2 separate regions of the Homo sapiens genome follow, and region 1 is linked to region 2. The links are contacts of gene promoters, found by promoter capture Hi-C in human tissues and cell types (Jung and others, 2019). All regions are on one chromosome and are shown on one strand. Each heading gives the region's core, a stretch centred on a gene start or on the middle of the fragment in contact. The rest is flanking DNA. Distances are from core to core; before and after follow the strand shown.

Region 1 (3,562 bases), core at 249-2,748, 680 kb before region 2:
TTGCACAACTCTGTGAATATAATAAAACTCACTGAATTGTACACTTTAAGTGGGTGAATTGTATGGTACGTGACTTTTATCTCAATAAAGCTATTACCAAAAAAGTATAATAGGAAAGAGGAACAAAACTTTTAAAAGATTTTAAAAGTAATTTATATATTATTCTAACCAATCAGTTATCAAACTTCATAATATAATAAACATCAAAAAGGAGTTCTCTTGAAACAGTCAATTTTATTCAGTTCTGGTGTCTAATATACTAATAATCAATGAAGAATATAAGGAGAAAGTGATACAATTACAGTCTCAGCAGTGGAATTTATTGAGACAATACATTTTAAATTTAAAAATGTATTCATAAAGCTTATTTATTTGTATTATTTTTAATTTAAGGTTTACTATTGTTTTTCTTGAAGTAATTTTTCCTGCCCTTGTTATTAGGGTGGGCTTTATGTACTATTTAATCTGATTTCCACACATATTATTAAACTGGTATTTAATATCTACAAATAATAATTTTGTCACTATTTTCTCAGGATTATGACCAACATGCCATGAAACTGTGATCCTAGTATATCACGCCTGGACTTGATTTTTAAAAAGCAATCATATTCAAGTGACTGTGTCCTTAACAGTGATTCCATTAAGTGAACAACAAATTTACGTTCAGCAGTGATTGTGAGAAAGAAACACAGGGGAACTTAGGAAATATAAATAGTTTCAGTTTAAAATCATGTAAAAATAAAACTATAAAATTAATGGGATTTGCATCAATTAAAAATTATTAAATAATATACTCTTGCATACTATACATTGAATTTGGCTACAACCTTCTCTGCTTTACATACATTTTTCAAAATTGACATAGATTGTATGAATTACAAACAAGTTCCGAGAGGTGATTTTACTACATACATTTCCATACTTCAGTCTTCATCTTACACAAAGGCAGATGTGACTTAGGGGCTCTCTGTCCAGGACTGAGGTATTTACCTGACATATCTCAGATATCAGTCAATCAACTGTCAGCATTTATTGATCATCTTCCAGGATATTAATGCTTTGCAAGCATCTCTGGGTAAGTGACTAAAGATTTCCTTGGGGCAATAGGAAAGAGGCTCAGATTCTTCTAACCGATGATTTAAAAAATATTTCAGCATGCTTTGTGCACGCTGATCACTGAATATTCATCAGGAGCTTTCAGTCAGCTTTTACTGGATGCATATCAAGTCTGTGTTGTTTTACACTGGGTTCCTTTATAGGTTCACAATTGGTATCATTTACTTTAACAAATTGACATTTATTCTCTGAATGGGTTTAGTATTTCGCCAAACCTTCTGCTTTGTAAAGACATGCTTTTTTTTTCTTTCTGAGATGGAATTTCACTCTGTCACCCAAGCTGGAGTGCAATGGCACAATCTCGGCTCACTGCAACCTCTGCCTCCCAGATTCAAGCAATTCTCCTGCCTCAGCCTCCCAGGTAGCTGGGATTACAGGTGTGCACCACCGCACCTGGCTAATTTTTGTACTTCTGCTAGAGATGGGGTTTCACTATGTTGGCCAGACTGGTCTTGAATTCCTGACCTCAAGTGATCTGCCCGCCTCGGCCTCCCAAAGTGCTGGGATTACAGGCGCGAGCCACCACGCCTGGCCAAGACATGCTTTTGATAGTAAATCTTCAGTGTATGGAATTCCAGCACAGGTATATCAAATTTTCTGAATCACTTTTTCTTGGAGGTTTATCTTGAAAGATATTACATTAAAGAAAGAGACCCTGGATTATCCCTGAGTGATTTCTCAATCCCTGATCATCCTCTGCCTTCTCTCGGCCAGAGCCTTCCGGGTTCACCCAGACTTGGTATATTTCAAGGCATTTCTCAATTCCTTGCATGGGGAACTAGCTCAAGCAGACACTAAGAGTTTCACCATGGCATGGAGGAAAAGATAGGTGACCAAAATGGTTGAAACTGCACCAAATGCTAGTAAGCAGTTGAAATTATGGCAAAGAAGGAGTAACTGGATTTGGCAACATGGAAATCATTGGTGACTCCTTAAAGTTTATTAGTAAAAGCTTGCTAGCAATTAATCTATTGGTGGATTCTATTTCCCCATTAAAAAACAAAACAAAACAAAACAAAACAAAACAAAACAAAACAAAACAGGCCGAGTGCAGTGTCAAATGTCTGTAATCCCAGCACTTTGGGAGGCCAAGGCAGGTGGATTACTTGAGCTCAGGAATTTGAGACCAGCCTGGGCAACACGGCAAAACCCCATCTTTACGAGAAAAACAAAAACTAGCTGGGCATGATATCATGCACCTGTAGTCTTTGCTACTCAGGAGGCTGGGGTGGGAGGATAGCTTGGGCCCAAAAGGTGGAGGCTGCAGTGAGCTGTGATTGCACCACTGCACTTCAGCCTCAATGACAGAGCGAGACCCTGGTCTCAAAAAATAAAAACAAACCATCAGAAACACACAAAACCGCAAAAGCTGTACAAAGGGTTAGAATAAGGGGAAGAAAATGTTTCCTGTGTTGTACTAAAAGAAACTTATGACTAAAAGTCATAAGATGGTGGACAGAGTGGATAATATGAAGTTCTGAGGTTGTCCAAAAAGAGCATGTAAAACAAAGCAGACTAAAAGCTTTGCAAGGGCACAGACTATGTCTTCCAATTTTTAGCCCAGTGCCTAGCACATAGGAGGTGGTCAATACATATTTGTTGAATGAATCAAGACAAGAAGGAAAGGAAGGAGGGCTTCAGAATGGTGCATTAAAAAAATAAGAACGTGAATTATTTCCCCCAATAAATATGTATTGAGTACTTATTCTAAAAGTAATCTGCCTACAACATTCATATAAAATGTTGTCTTTTAAATGCGGCATAATTTCTAGATTTATATATATTTGCATAGAATGTTCTGGAATAAACTAGAAATTGAAGCATTATATAAAAGATACTCTGGAACATAAGATAATTACAGGTCTGGGGACCTTTATTTGCAATTCCAAAATCTAAAAGCTTCTGAAAATCAAAAAGTTTTGGAGGAAAATTTGACCTGAACTGATGTTAGCTAGTTTATTTACACACTTTATTTACATAGTTAGTTAGATATAACTAAATATAGACTTCACTGAGAAATATTAATATTTTTGGAGGCACTGGTCCAGGCCCCAAAAATGCTGTTACATAATATGTTCTTAACTTTCTAAAATCTGAAAAATTCCAAATACATTCAAAGTTCTGAATAAGATATTGTGTATTTGTATAAAACTCCCTTTCAAAAACTAGAAAGAAGCTATGAGAATAATGATTTGATCAATAATGGAAGTAGAATTCAGTTGTCACCAATCTAAGTAACATGTTTTTAAATACATTTGCTATGAAGAAAACAATTAGGATTAGAATATAGTCATAAGCTTTTGATTTTTCTGTTGTTATTATTATTAGTTAATTAATTTTTGAGACAGGGTCTTGCTCTGTTGCTCAGGCTGGAGTGCAGATCACAGTTCACCACAGCCTTCATCTCCCAGGCTCAGGTGATCCTCCTGCCTTAGCCTCTTGA
Region 2 (3,381 bases), core at 211-2,710:
TAAAATAGAACTTGAAAGTAGTCCTTCTCAAATGAGATCACTTCTGAATGTGCTCCCCTTCAGCATATTAAGATGACAGAAAACTACATGACAAGAGAGTCAAAAAAATCATTCATCAGTTCTATTTACTTCACATCTGACCTAGGCAAGCCCTGGCAAAGGAGGTATTTGGAAGATGTGGGCAGGAACCCCCAGTTGTAAAAGGGAGAGTCCTCATTAGTAATGCTGTTTCTTCGGACCACAAATTTTTTTAAGGACTGAGTTCTCCACTCAAAAATGAAAAATCAGTTTCTTGGTTTAAAATGTTCATATGGCATGTTACATTATTTTAATTGTATCCCCGGTCCAGTGACTACCATTTAAAATCAGTGATAACTAAGAAAGTTCAAAGGCTCCAAACCAAGGCATCAACTGAAGCTCATGTATAGCAGGAAGGAGGTGACTTGATGTAAAATAGCACATAGCATGCAGTCTTTTGTCCTTTCCTTCCCCTCCAGTCCAGGCATTTGATTTTTAAATCAATATTCTTAGTGGATAGCATTCTTCATCCCAATAGACAAAAATGTACCTAGATGATTTCATACCACCTCCCCAAATGAAAACCGAAGTTGTCAAAGAGAAGGTTTTCTTCAATTCATTTTTTAAAAGTGTTTGGTACTTTTCCACTTTGTCTTAAACATGGACTTATTTTTATATGCAGTGTTACACAGTTTAGATGTATAAAACTTAAATTGACCTGATGAATGATGAGAAGGAAAAACTCCAGTCATAACAGAATGAAATGACAACCTTACTCAGTTTTCCTTAACAAAGAAGTGTGTTCCCTTCCTTACATTCTATAGGCAAGAAAAAAGAGGGCAGGGGAAAGGGATGGGGGGCAGCCTGGAGTAAAATTAAATTATGCTAAGATTTGTTAATATGTATTTAGTAAATAGTATTTCTATGTTTCATAATATACCTTTCCCCAACTCTTCTTACCTCCACCTCCACCCTGCTATGTTTAATAGACTTGAAAAATTACTCCCTTTTTCAGAGTTGATCATAACTCAGGATAGTCAGGAAGAGCCAAACTATTATGCCTTTAGTAAACATAATATTCCTTATATATTTTCATTCCTTTATTTATGCATCAAACATTTCTTGAATTCATGATAATGTCCTGGACCCTGGGAATACCAGAGAAGTAACAGAATAAAAGTAGCTTACAAAATAGCTAAATAAGCAATTACAATGTAGTGCTACAATAAGAGAAAAGTTTGGTTGTCTTTCCAGGGAGAACTGTTCTGACTTCAGTACTGAAGCAGCTATCTGAGTTTTAGTATACTGTTATCAACTTTACCCAACACATGCTAATGTTCCAGAACATTGTGATTTTGACTTCTAACAAAGAAAGGAATACTAGAACTCATTTCAGCCAATCAGAAACTGAGCTTTTCATTCTGAATGGAATTATATGATTCAAGATGTAAATCACACAGATGTTGGTAGAGAAAAAGGCATACTGGTATTGAAACTGTAAACTGGCCTGTTTACTTCGTCTCCTAACAAAAAACACTTTGGATTCAGGTTCTCCACAGCAGTCTTCCACTGGCCACAGTGAGGGGAGCTAGGTTTCCCCAGTCTCCAGCTAGAAAAACTCAGAACATCTAAAGATCTGAAAGATGGAAAAAAGAGAACTAAAGGTAGGAAAAAAATAAATGAAACTTCCAATTCTTTCCTTATGGGGTTACCCTGGTAAATGTTTGTATGCCTTGGAGGCCACATAAACATTGAGGGGTGTTTCAACAGACATCCTAGAAGTTGAAAGCCAAAAGAAGGTAAGGAAATAACAGCTGATGTTCAGTTACAGGTGAAGATAATTTTAATGGGTTTGGGGCATGATAAATTTCAATGCTCTTTATCGTATAGTTTGGAAAAAATGTTGTACTTGCCAACATCTTTTATAACTCAGCATTTAAGTATGATTTTTTTAAATCCTCAGAAAATTGATACCAGATTCTTTAGTGCAGTTCCCTGAGATTCTGAAGTAAACCTTCTCAACTGTGAATGCACTTTAAAACAATGAATCTCAGTCACAGGAAGTTAAGATTGCTGAGAAAGAAAAAAAAACTTGTATAGACTTTTATAATTACTAGGGTCTAAATCTGAATAAATCACATTGAGCTTATGACACTGTATGTTTCCTATTTAAAGGGATATACTAGCTGTCTCTATTACCATAGTACAGGTGCTCCTTGACTTATGATAGGGTTACATCTCAATAAACCACCACAAGTTGAAAATATTGTAAGTCAAAAATGCATGCAATACCCTGATGAACCCATGATAAAGTAAAAAAATCCTAAGTTGGGGAGGACGCAGAGCAAGATGGCCAAACAGAAGCCTTCACTGATTGTTCTCCATGCACGAACATCAAATTTAACAACTATCTACACAAAAAAGCACCTTCATAAGAACCAAAAATCAGTGATCACAAAGTGATCACAGTACCTGGTTTTAACTTCGTATTGTTGAAAGAAGCACTGAGGAAGATAAGAAAGACAATCTTGAATTGCTGACACCACCCCTCCCCCATCCCCTGGCAGCAGCCACATAGTGTGGAGAGAGAATCTGTGCACTTGGAGGGAGGGCACAGCGATTGTGGGACTCTAGAATTCAGTGCTGCCAATACGGGGCAGAACTTAGCTGTTGCCAATGGAGGGACCATTTAGACCACCCTTAGCCAGAGGAGAATTGCCCATCCCAGGTTTCAGAAACTGAGTTTTGACTACCTCCACCACCATGGGCTAAAGTGCTCTGAGGTCCTAAATAAACTTGAAAGCCTGTCTGGGCCACAACAACTGCAATACCCAGGCAAGTCCTAGTGCTGTGCTGGGCTCTGAGCCAGTGGACTGGGGAGCGCACGATCTAGTAAGACACCAGCCAGGATGGCTAAGTAAGTGCTTACAGCACCCCTCCCCCAACCCCAGGCAACACAGCTTATGGCTCCAAAAGGGACTCCTTCCTTTGCTTGAGGAGAGAAGAGGGAAGAGTGAAAAGGACTTTGTCTTGCAACTTGGATACCAGTTCAGCCAGAGTAGGATAGGGTACTGGGCAAAATCCTGAGGCACTCATTGCAGGCCCTAGCTCTTGGATGACATTTCTAGATATACCCTGGGCCAAAAGGGAACTGCCTTGAAGGGAAGGACCCAGTCTTGGCAGATTTCATCACATGCTGAATAAAGAGCCTTTGGACCCTGAAAAATCAGTAGCAGTAGCCAAGTACTACATACCGTGGGCCTCAGCTGAAACTCCGAAATGCACTGGCTTCAGATGTGACCCAGCACATTCACAGGTCTGGTGGCTACGAGGAGAGACCACTTCTGCTTGAGAAGAACAGAG

The links. The method cuts DNA at HindIII sites, captures the fragments that hold promoters and counts their contacts. A contact is called where the count stands out against the background at its distance.
Region 1: a fragment that was not itself captured here is called in contact with the fragment with the promoter of C1orf105 in region 2 in 1 of the 25 tissues and cell types used here (mesenchymal stem cells).

Annotation. Positions count from the first base shown.
Region 1 is chr1:171,734,534-171,738,095 of GRCh38, forward strand. The region is part of intron 2 of VAMP4 (vesicle associated membrane protein 4); the gene reads right to left. Among named protein-coding and RNA genes, the nearest start is that of VAMP4, 5.8 kb to the right of the region's middle. The HindIII fragment of the contact is 4,216 bases long and covers 1-3,562 here.
Region 2 is chr1:172,419,225-172,422,605 of GRCh38, forward strand. It overlaps C1orf105 (chromosome 1 open reading frame 105), which reads left to right and starts at 1,461. Exons shown (of 7, transcript NM_139240.4): 1 at 1,461-1,682. The coding sequence starts at 1,662. LOC102724528 (a long non-coding RNA gene) reads right to left here. Exons shown (of 3, transcript XR_001738294.3): 1 at 3,273-3,381. The HindIII fragment of the contact is 11,853 bases long and covers 1-3,381 here.